3 separate regions of the Homo sapiens genome follow, and all the other regions are linked to region 3. Evidence: promoter capture Hi-C in human tissues and cell types (Jung and others, 2019). All regions are on one chromosome and are shown on one strand. The core of a region is centred on a gene start or on the middle of the fragment in contact, and the rest is flanking DNA. Distances in the headings are between cores, read along the strand shown.

Region 1 (3,708 bases), core at 782-3,281, 140 kb after region 3:
AACACAGCATAGCAAGTAGCAAAAGCACCCTGTTTGTATCAGCTCCCCTTGTTCCCTAAGTTCCACAAGGAAAATGGGAAGGAGCCTTATGGATTCTGTGCATGCACTGGGTTTGTGCCCCACGTGAGGAACATTGAGCCTGGGGAACCCCCTCTTTCATAGACAGCAGTAAGCAAGTCTGCTCTTTGTCCTGGAGAGAGATATTAACCTCATTCCTCAAGGTGGCTTACTGCAATGCACGACCCTGAGAAACAGCCCAGGAAAGAGGGGTCAGGGCCTTGTAGTCTTGGCATACTCAGTAAAAATGTGCTGGGACGTTCAGGGCCTCTGACAGCTTTCCTCTCCCAATAATTGACCTTACACATTCTTGGCCAAAGTGGAATATTCCCATGAGTATACCACTCCATCTGCCACTCCAATCAATCTGATCACCCTAGACTGGGACCAAATTTGCTCAATTTGTCTCATACAGAATTTACTACCAATAGAACCTCAAGCAAGATGAGGCCAACCAACAGTATTGGCTTCAACAATGCCACCCGGCGTCTCAGACTCAGTCACCTGTGAATAAGTCTCAAGGGGATCAGTAGGCCTTAGTAGGCCAGGATACAGTCTAAGGCCAGGTCATTATCCATTACAACCTGCATAAGTGAGTTCTAGACTAATCTACTGGTCCTCAATGTCATCGCCAGTAATTATATGAAGTGATAGATGGGCCAAAAGCAACCCTCATCCCTAATGGAGAGACATCACATGGCCCACATACAAACATACACCCAACAGGTTACGTGTTACTTGAATTCAGAATTTGTTGTTGATTCTGATTTGGATTATCATTACACTGGTTTGGTTTAGCCACATGGATGGTGTCACCTAACGCTTGCATCCTCAGACACCATACATGAACCAAAGCCACGTGGGTGACAGGAAAAGTGCCTGTGTTTGTACCAATCAGACAAACAAGGTTGTGCTGGATGGTGTGTTTGTGCATGTATGGGGTAAGGGGAGGTTCCATATTTGGGAGCTGCCATTGATGGCTGGCAAAGGCCACAACTGAATAGCCAGGACTGGCCACCTCCTTATGAATTCCCCTGTTTTCATAGCATGCAGGCAGCATGATAAATCCAGAAAGGGTAAGACTGTCAGCTGCAGCTGCTGCTCAACTCAGATGAACGAGATGATGGTTTTTCTAGGTTTCAATGCTGGATCTAGGGGACAAAGAGCACATTGATCATTCTCCACTGTTTGCACCTGCTGGCATCTAAGGTGTCTTCTCGCAGGCTTCCTGGCTATGAAAGCAGCATATCTCATTCCAGTAGCCATAACTTCATCATTTCTCCGATCTTTCCCTACTCATACCCAGACCTTTTGTCTGCTAGAGCGAGGCGTGAGTGAGACAAGGACATTTTTACAAAATTTACAGACATCCATTGTATCTCGCACCTTGGCCTATATGAGCCAGTGTGAGAGAACTTGGCAAGGAATGTACTCAACCAGTGTACTCAATTTGGCAAGCAATTGTATTCAATGAGTACACTGATCTGGGATCAGGTTAATCTGTCAAGAGAATCCAAGTGGCTAAACCAGAATTAGAGATAAGTTTGAATCCCCTAAGTCCCCTTTTGCCGGGCTGACACCTGGAGGGTGCACCAAGCAGGCTGGTGTGGGGTTGCTGTTGGGTTAGGGGTGGGAGAGGAAAGAAAAAAGAAGCACCATGCTCCCAACTTTTCAGAATAGATCTATATAACCCTCCACCTGTTTTCATCCTGATCAGTACCCAGGAAGTGGCTGAAAGGAGATGATCTTTGGAGATAGCTGCATTCAGTGATCATACTGCCTCGCTGAAGTATGTGGCCCAGAAGGAGTTGATGGAGGTAGTCAGAAGCTTTGGAGGAGGCCATTCCAGTGCTCAATAATACCAGATACTAGCAGATGGTAGGGAGCCTAGCATGTCCATCGAATACTTTGACTACTGGCCCATTGTTGGGCGGCTTTTGCAATAAAAGGTGCATCACTGTCAGACTGTAGGTGGTCTGAGAATCCAAAAACTTGACATGACTTAGTTTCAGGGGCCAAAATAGTGTGACTGGGGCCCCAGACTCTATTCAGACTAGAACAGACAAGAACAGCAACATTGTAACCTGAAAACGTTCTGACAGAAGTGAGGCACCAATGACACAGCCTGGGGAGGGGGTCAGCTATCTGATATCTGGACAATCATCCAGGAGCAACTGGGGGCAATACTCTGTGTGCAATGCGGCCTCCTTCCCTGCAAGACAAATGGCTCAAATTTTGGGAGGCACCACAGCTCTGGTATGTAGTGGTGTCTTCTGCATCAGAAACACATAGTTGTTTTGTTGTTGTTGTTATTGTTTTTTGAGACAGAGTCTCACTGTGCAGTGATGCGATCTCGGCTCACTGCAACTTCTGCCCCCCAGGTTCAAGCGAATCTCCTGCCTCAGCCTCCCAAGTAGGTGGGATTACAGGCGCCTGCCACCACACCTGGCTACTTTTTGTAGTTTTAGTAGAGATGGGGTTTCACCATGTTGGCCGGGCTGGTCTCAAACTCCTGACGTCAAGTGATCCGCCTGCCTTGGCCTCCCAAAGTACTAGGATTACAGGTGTGAGTCACTGCGCCTGGCCTGAAACAGTTTTTGATTTTGTGCTCAGTCCACGATGGTGAATGTGTTGTTATGTCTTGTTCGATGACGGATCTAGGTGGTGATGGTGGTGGTATGGGCAGTGAAGTCTGGATCAGCAGCTTGACTACAGTTTGTCTCATTAGAGAAGGGCCCTTACCATGGGCATCTCTGTGAGTAACTTGGGCATCTGATTGGCAGCTGAAATTATTTCCACAATATGCAGCTGCAATAGGGAATGTCTTTAATCTTCCAGTCTTGTGGGCAAGATAGCTAGGCCATTGGCAACCACACAAAAGGCAGTAAAAATGTAGAAGGGTTCATCACGGGGAGTATTGGCCAGAACTATCAGCACTCCCTTGAGCTCTGTCCATTGAGTGGAGCAGTCATGCTTGCTTTTTTTAAAAAATTATTATTTATTATTATTTTTTTAAATTTGAGATGGAGTCTCGCTCTGTTGCCTAGACTGGAGTGCAATGGCGCGATCTCGGCTCACTGCAACCTCCGCCTCCTGAGTTCAAGCAATTCTCTTCCCCTAGCCTCCCAAGTAGCTGGGATTACAGATGCACGCCACCACGCCCGGCTAATTTTTGTATTTTTAGTAGAGACGGGGTTTCACCACGTTGACCAGGCTGATCTGGAACTCCTGACCTCAAGTGATCCACCCGCCTCGGCCTCCCAAAGTGCTGGGATTACAGGCGTGAGCCACCACGCCCAGCCCATGCCTGTTTTTGGTTCTGCATAGCTGGTGCTGAGGTTGAACGTGGACACTATAAGGTGTCAGCCTAGCCAAACCATCATTGTACCAGGCCAGGTGCCTAGGGAACCCTCTGTGACTTGAGGGCCCCATTGAGCCAGCAGCTTTGCTTCAAGTGGTGAAGTTAGGAAAAGATTTCCCCTGAAGGGATTTTTGCTGCCACTTTTTCATGTAAAACCCAGCTAATATTAGGACCAGGCCAGCTGTGTTACTGAATACAGTATTTCCATTGGATTAATAATGCCTTTTGTGCCCCTCCCTTAGTAGCCACCAAATCCAAGTTGACCCATCCCAAAATGGGAGTGTCAGTTT
Region 2 (4,147 bases), core at 729-3,228, 240 kb before region 3:
GTGGTTCCATACAAATTTTCAGATTGTTTTTTCTATTTCTGTGAAGAATGTCATTGGTATTTTGATAGGGATTGCACTGAATCTGTGGATTGCTTTGAGTAGTACAGTCATTTAACAATACTCTTCCAATCCATGAGCATGGGATGCCTTTCCATTTGTTTGTATCCTTTTCAATTTTTTTTCTTTTTTTTTTTTTTTTTGAGATGGAGTCTTGCTCTGTCGCCCAGGCTAGAGTGCAGTGGCACGATCTCGGCTCACTGCAACCTCCGCCTCCCAGGTTCAAGGAATTCTCCTGCCTCAGCCTCCGGAGTAGCTGGGACTACAGGCGCCTGCCACCACGCCCGGCTAATTTTTTATTTATTTTAGTAGAGATGGGGTTTCACCATCTTGGCCAGGCTGGTCTCGAACTTCTGACCTTGTGATCCACCCGCCTCAGCCTCCCAAAGTGCTGGGATTACAGGTGTGAGCCACGGCGCCCGGACTTCAATTTTTTTTTATCAGTGTCTTATAGTTTTCATTGTAAAGGCCTTTCACTTAATTATTAGTAATTAAGTTTTGGGGGGGTCAAACGTTATATGTGAATTTTCTAGTGTGCAGGGTTTTGGCATCCATAGCCTCCACATTCTTCAAGGATCAACTGTATTTTGTTGAGGATTTTTGCATCTATGTTTATCAGGTATATTGGCCTGTAGTTTTCTTTTGTTGTTGTGTGTGTCCTAGTCTGGTTTTGGTGTCTGGGTAACGCTGGCCTCATAGAATGAGTTAGAAAAAAATTCTCTTCAATTTTTAGGAATAGTTTGAGAAGAATGGGTGTTAGTTCTTTATAAATTGGTAGAATTCCACAGTAAAGCCATCTGGTCCTGAGCTTTTCTCTGTTGAGAGACTTTTAATTATTGATTCAATGTGGTTACTCATCATTGATCTCTTCAGGTTTTCTATTTTTTTCCTGGTTCAATCTTGGTAGGTTGTTTGTGTCCAGGAATTCATAGATATCCTCTAGGGTTTCCAATTTGTTAGTGTATAGTTGTTCATAATAGTTTCTAATGATCCCTTGTATTTCTGTGATATCAGTTGTATGTCTCCTTTCTCATTTCTAATTTTATTTGGGTCTTCTCTCTTTTTTTCTAGGTTAGTCCTGGTAGTGGCTTATTGATTTTTTTTTTTTTTTTCTCACACACCAAGCACAGGTTTGTGGATTTTGTTTATATTTTTTAAAAAACAAGTTTTTATTTCATTGACCCTTTGTTTCCCTTTTTTAGTCTCTATTCTGTTTAGTTCTGCTCTGATCTTTATGTTTCTTTCCTTTGGGTTTGGTTTATTCTTGCTTTTCTAGCTCCTTGAGGAGCATCATGAGGTTGTTTACTTGAAGTCTTCCTACTTTTTTTGATGTAGGCATTTGTTGTTATATAGTAGGCTATTAATGACTGTTCCAATAATTTTGGCTTCCAAATGATTGGAAACTGAAAGCATGCAAGGCCGGTGTGGTGGCTCACACCTGTAATCCCAGCACTTTGGGAGGCAGAGGCAGGCAGATCACCTGAGGTCAGGAGTTCAAGTACAGCCTGGCCAACATGGTGAAACCCCGTCTCTACTAAAAATACAAAAATTAGCTGGGTGTGGTGGCGGGTGCCTGTAATCCCAGGAGGCAGAGGTTGCAGTAAGCCAAGATCGCACCATTGCACTCCAGCTTGGGCAACAAGAACGAAACTCCGTCTCAAAAAATAAATAAATAAATAAATAAAAGCATGCAGGATATCAGTCACTTATAACAGTCATTTTTTCCCCAATTTTATGGAATTGCATGGAATTTTTTTTTCATCTATTCATTTTCAGTCTATGTGTGTCTTTACGGGTGAAGTGAATTTCTGATAGGCAGCATACAATTGGGTCTTTTTTTTTTTTGGACAGGGTGGTGGTAACAGCAATCTGTTTGGGCCAGTCCCCAGGCCCCTGGGTGGCGTGCTGGTACTGACTGGCAGCAGCAGGCTGGGTGGGCCAGTGCCTGGGCCTCTGGGAGATGCACACAGGAATCAGTGGTAGGCAAGGTGGACCTGTCCTTGGGCTCCTGGACAGTGTGCATGTGTGGCATGCACACCAGTGGCAGTGAAGTGGGTGGATCAATCCCTAGGTCTCTGGACAGTACACATGGACGGCAGCAGTAGGTGGGGTGAGCCCATCCTCAGGTCCCTGGAAGGCGTGCATGTGTGCTGACAGTGCAGGTCAACCCCCAGACCCCTGGATGACATGCATGGGTACTAGCATTGACATCAGTAGGTAGGGTGGGACCCTTAGGCCCCTGGATGGTGCACACGGGTGGTGATGGTGGTGGGCTGGGCAGATTGAATCTCAGGCCCCTGGATGATGTGCACAGGTGCTGGCAGCAATGGTGGTGGTGAAGGGCAGGGCAGGCCTGTTTTCAGCCCCCCAGATGGTGTGCATGGGCACTGGCAGTGGCAGATAGGATGGATTGATCCCCAGGCCCTGGAAGGCATGCTCGGGCACCAGTGGCAATGGTGGTGGGCAGGGCGAGCCTGTCCTCAGATGTCCTCTGCACCTGCAACCGATGTGTGGGCTATTTCCACACAGCCAGTGGAGTGGGAGAGAATGGTAGCCCCACCAAAGAAAAATAATTCATGACCAGTATTTTTTCAGTTTTTTTCCCCCAGCTTTATTGAGGTATAATTGACAAATAAAAATAGAGTATACTCAGCCGGGCACGGTGGCCCACGCCTGTAATCCCAGCACTTTGAGAGGCCAAGGTGGGCGGATCACTTGAGGCCAGGAGTTCAAGACTAGCCTGGCCAACATGTTGAAACCCTCCACTAAAAATACAAAAATTAGCTGGGCATGGTGGTGGGCGTCTGTAATCCCAGCTACTTGGGAGGCTGAGGCAGGAGAATTGCTTGAACCTAGGAGATGGAGGTTGCAGTGAGCCGAGATCATGTCACTGCACTCCAGTCTGGGTGACAAGAGCAAAACTCTGTCTCAAACAAACAAACAAACAAAAAAAGTATATATTTTCTCACACTTGTAATCCCAGCACTTTGGGAGGCCGAGGTGGGAGGATCACCTGAGGTCAGGAGTTCGAGACTAGCCTGGCCAACATGGTGAAACCCCTCTCTACTAAAAATACAAAAATTAGCCAGGTGTGGTGGTGCACACCTGTAGTTCCATCTACTCAGGAGGCTGAGGCAGGAGAATTGCTTGAGCCTGGGAGGCGGAGGTTGCAGTGAGCCGAGATCACTCCACTGCACTCCAGCCTGGGTGACAGAATGATACTCCGTCTCAACATAAAAAAGGAAAACAAACAAACAACAACAACAAAAAACAAAAAACAAACCCAAGGGACTTCTGATGTGAGTATCCACTGAAGCTTACTACAGGTCCACATAGCATTCTGGTTAACTGTGGACATCTTGAGTACCAGTTCTACTGGATCTACTGGATCATAAGGCCCAAAGTACAGAGTGGCCTGCCTTGCAACTGGATCTCTTAAGCTGTCTTCTCTTGCCCTAAATGCCCCTCAAAGCTGGCAGCACTTCTAGTCCTGACGAGCAGAACATTCAAATGTGGCCAGTGTTGACTCCAAAATTCAGAGGTTCACCATGCAACATGTCTCCTTTTTAGAGATAAAGAATGCAAGGTACAGTAACTTGTCCATCATTTTTTTGGTGAAAAGACAATCTGCCAGGCTCAGTGGCTCATGCCTATAATCCCAGCACTTTGGGAGGCCAAGGTGGGCAGATCACTTGAGCCCAGGAGTTTGAGACCTGCCTGGGCAACATGGTGAAACCCTGTCTCTACAAAAAAATATAAAATTAGCCAGGAGTGGTGGCATGCGCCTGTGGTCCCAGCTACTCAGGAGGCTGAGGTGGGAAGATCGCTTGAGCCTGGGAGGTCTACGCTGCAGTGAGCTGAGATTGCACCACTGTACTCCAGCCTGGGTGACAGAGCAAGACTCAGTCTCAAAAAAAAAGAAAAAAAAAAAAAAGACAAACTGTTTTGGTATTACTATAAGAACAACACACATATTTACAGAAGACCGGGCATTCATGTGATGCCCTTTCTACCTTCGTGGCCAAATTTATGCAGTCACACTTCACTGTGTCATCTTCTCCTTGGGAAATATTTCTCCTTCACTTTTCTT
Region 3 (3,759 bases), core at 1,056-3,555:
GCTTGGTCAAGCTCTGCCCCTGGCTAAGCAATTTTCACCAATGGCTAAGCCATCTGTCTTGCCCCCTCTTCTCAAAGCCCCCAGCCCCTCACACCAGGAACCTGCAGCATTGACTTGAGGAAGGAGTCCGGGGTCAGGCCAGTCTACCTGTTAGGGACTAGGGGTCTGGGCCCTGCCAAGGCAGGGAGCCCTGATCCCATTGCCCTCCCTCTCCCCGTGGGGTCTCAGGCCCTAGGCCAGGGCTCAACAGACACAGGCAGTGGGATGGGGTTGCCCTTCTATTGATCCAAATCCTGAGTGTCGCCTGGGTGAGTCATGGAGGTGAGGAGGCCCACAAGGCTCAGCAGTGTGGAGAAGAGCAGCAGGAAGGAGGCCGTGAAGAGGAGGGCAGGCAGAGCACTGAGCACCAGCAGCAGGAGAGCCGGTAGCAGGTGGCGCCACACCGCGGCCACGACAGGCCACAAGGAGCTCAGCAGGTGGGAGCCAGTGGTGAAGAGTGCATGGCACAACATCAGTGCCAGCAGCAGGTAGAGTATCCCCTCCAGACCCCACAGCAGGCGCTGCAGCGGTTGCCGCCAGTTCGAGGTGCTCCACCACTGGATCCAGCTCGGGGGCATGTGGCTCACCCACCAGCGCACCCAGCCATGCCTCGTGACCCAGGCTGACCAGGGCACTGCCTGCTGTGGCCCCTCGCCAGCCCCGATGGTATCTGTCTCCACTCGCGGCTGCTGCATCATGTCTGGTGCACCTGGGGAGAGGGCCAGGGTCTTGAAGATGCCTGGGACCTTGGGGGGGGGGGGCAGAGAGGGGGTGCAGGGGTCAGGAGGGCACCAGTGTGCGTGGGGTGGGGCTACAGAATTAGGGACTGGGACTTACCTCTGGGCAGTTACCTAAGTCATGTTGCTTCCTGCAGCGCCCAGGACGGCCTGGCAGGCAGATCCAAGTCCCCACTCTCATCTACCCCCACCCTCCCCAGAGGAGCCCCTTTGTGACCCGGGCTGGGGTGGGGTCCAGCCAAGAGAGGAGTCACTGTAGGGTGTGAGGCCCACCCAAGTCCCTCTGCACGGACCCTCCAGGCTGGCAGGGGAGCCTCGGAGCCCCGCAGATGTAGTTTCTCATGCTTTCTCATGGGAAGCCCTCCCTGGATCCCTGTCCCTTTCCTGCTTTCCCTGCTGGCTGATATCCACCCCTTTCCAAACTGCTCTCTCGCAAGTCTTTCTGTCTGGACCTTCATTCTCTAGAGCCACAGAGGAGGCCAGAGTGGCTGCCCCCAATCCACAGGCTCTGAGGTGGCTGCCACATTCTTCCTTGGGCTCCCTGGCTAGTATCCTACCTTCTCTTGCTGCCCAAAGACTCAGATCCAGGTATCTGATACCTATATTATAGGACTGTGAGGTTCAGGCTGGGAAGAAAGGGGTATCATCCCACCTGCCCAGCCAGGAAGGAGAAAAGGGGGCCTGATGAAGAAGGGTGGTCATTGTATATTTGAAGGACACTGAGTTGTGGGGAGGGGCTCTCAGGCCCAAGGATGGAGGCAGAAAGCCAGGCCAAGCAGGGTCAAGGGCATGCCACAGGCTCTCAGGAGCGGGCCCAGCCCCATGAGCAGCAGCAGCAGTGCGTCCTGGAGGCTAAGTTGTCCTGAGACTGTACCCATTTGCAGGAGTAGAGCCTCCTGCTGTCCAGGACCTTCACCGGCCCCCTGACTCTGGCCCCTGGTGAGAAGTTTGCGCTGTGGCAGAGTGTGACCTGCGGGCCTGTGGAGAGAGAGGGTGGTGACTGGGCTTAGGGAAGTTGTCCACTGGCCCGCCCGCCTACAATGCCCACCTGCCAGGCTGCTGCCCACTTACCTATGGAGCAGGTCAAAGGTGAGGAAGCTGACCAGAAGCAGCAGCAGGGCTGGGCCAGTGGTGGAAAAGACTGCCTGGATTGTCAGTCCTAGTGCCCCCAGCCATAGGACACTGTCCAGGAGCTGGGCCCAGCTAGGGCCCCAGGTGGATACAGGTGGACGCACTGGACTACCTGACCCCTCCCCAGCACCCAGGCCCCTTGGAGGAACTGGGATCGGATCCTCACGTGCTTCGGGTCTGGGTAAGCAGAGCCGGGTCATGGAGAGAGGTGGAGGTGACGGGAAGACCTAGTGCTGAAAAGGATTATAAGGGTGAGAGTAGGGGAAGGGGTAGGGCCCGGGCAGACAGAAGGGTGAGCTCAGAGTGGGGAATTAGGCTCCTGCAGAGTCTCCCCCTCCCCCATACCCACCCAGCAAACCCTCCTCACCTCCTCCCACTTTGGTCAGCATTCTGGGAGTGGGCACCCGGGGCATTGTGACCTGTTACCACGTGGGGCCGTGGGGTAGGGAGGGGGCTGCTGCTGCTGCTGCTCTGACCTCATAAGCAGCTGGTGGCCTAGGTGGGGCTTAGCTGGGAAGTCAGGGATTTCTGAGAACTAAGACTCATCCTCTTGCCTTTGCTGATTCTCTGCCCTAGGGCCCTCCCTTGGGGATCTGAGTTGTCAGGAAGGCATTCTAACCCCATTACTACTTGGGCATCTGTCCAAGGGAGCGAGGTCTGCTTTCTTCTTCCTGTGAGTTTGCAGAGCTGCAGGTCCAGGGCGAAGTCATTCAATATCTCTGTCCCCAGCTGTCTTCCCTGTGGGTCCTTCTAGGGGATTTTTCAGGCCTGAAGTTCCAGATTGCAGAGATGGGCTCTGCCAGGGGACTGCCTGAGGCTTCTGGGGCTGGGCTTCCGCATAACCTGCTAAATGGGGGTGAGAGAGGAGGGGGCTGTTCAGGTATTCTAAGCACTACAGTTTATAGGGGGTGTTATGCATACTGGGGTTCCAGTAATGAGGTAGAGGACATGAACTTAAGAGGACTATGACCTAGTAACCCCCTTATTAGAGGTTAAGGTTACAGTCTGAGAATGGAGTTAAGGAAAATGAACATATAATGAAGGGCTTAGTCACTTGGATTATCAGTATATCAGATTACACTGATCATCTGTAAATGGGTGGTGGCCATAGGGGTCCAGCACATCTCAGTTTAGTGACTTGAGAGGCAAGAGCGGAAATGTGTCATAATTAAGAGAACTTAATCTTTGCCCACATATCATACTTTGAAGGAAAACTGGTAGGGGTGGCAAAATGGGAGACAGTGGCCATACAGCCCCTAGGAGAGGAGGAGACAGAACAAGAATCAGGCTGCATATCCACCTCCAGCAGGCCTTGCCCAGAGACGAGGGTCACCAGCCCTAATGACCATGCACTGATCGCCCTTGGTCTGGCTGTTCTTGCTTATCCAGCAGCTGGGTTTTACGAGTAGATTTGTCCGTAATGGGATAGGGTATAACAGAAGATCCCAGAATTTTTTTTTTTTTGGCATTAAGTTCCAATTGTGCTTGTAAAGGAACATTAAGGTTTAAGATTGGCAATTCCCTGAGCCTGATCAATCCTGGATGCATCCACACAATTGCATTCCTGGACATACAGACCTGGGGAGCATGTCCTGATGAGTCCACCAAGATGAGGCTACTCCATATTGCAGGGCATGGGGGGATCGGAGAGTCTAAAGCTCCTTAAAGATTTACTATGCACCAGGTGCTCTGTATGCATGTATAGGAGAGTTCTGTCTGTGATTTTCTCAGAGTTTATTTTGTATTCAACAATCATTTATTTAAGTGCTTCCTATGTGCCAGGCACTGCACCAGATGGTGGGTGTATTAGGCCATTCTTGCGTTGCTATGAAGAAATACCTGAGACTGGGTA

What was found. The method cuts DNA at HindIII sites, captures the fragments that hold promoters and counts their contacts. A contact is called where the count stands out against the background at its distance.
Region 1: a fragment that was not itself captured here is called in contact with the fragment with the promoter of C20orf141 in region 3 in 2 of the 25 tissues and cell types used here (adrenal gland and spleen).
Region 2: a fragment that was not itself captured here is called in contact with the fragment with the promoter of C20orf141 in region 3 in 1 of the 25 tissues and cell types used here (bladder).

What each region holds. Positions count from the first base shown.
Region 1 is chr20:2,675,581-2,679,288 of GRCh38, reverse strand. All of the region lies in intron 2 of LOC105372507 (a long non-coding RNA gene), which reads left to right. Among named protein-coding and RNA genes, the nearest start is that of IDH3B-DT, 13 kb to the right of the region's middle. The HindIII fragment of the contact is 8,763 bases long and covers 1-3,708 here.
Region 2 is chr20:3,057,738-3,061,884 of GRCh38, reverse strand. No RefSeq gene overlaps it. Among named protein-coding and RNA genes, the nearest start is that of OXT, 12 kb to the left of the region's middle. RefSeq lists enhancers at 1,769-2,268, 2,269-2,770. The HindIII fragment of the contact is 4,505 bases long and covers 1-4,147 here.
Region 3 is chr20:2,813,533-2,817,291 of GRCh38, reverse strand. C20orf141 (chromosome 20 open reading frame 141) reads right to left here and starts at 2,305. Exons shown (of 3, transcript NM_001256538.2): 1 at 2,275-2,305; 2 at 1,848-2,140; 3 at 1,462-1,754. The coding sequence starts at 2,107. The coding sequence ends at 1,517. It overlaps TMEM239 (transmembrane protein 239), which reads right to left and starts at 928. Exons shown (of 2, transcript NM_001167670.3): 1 at 877-928; 2 at 1-748. The coding sequence starts at 737. The coding sequence ends at 279. RefSeq lists a silencer at 372-431. The HindIII fragment of the contact is 18,533 bases long and covers 1-3,759 here.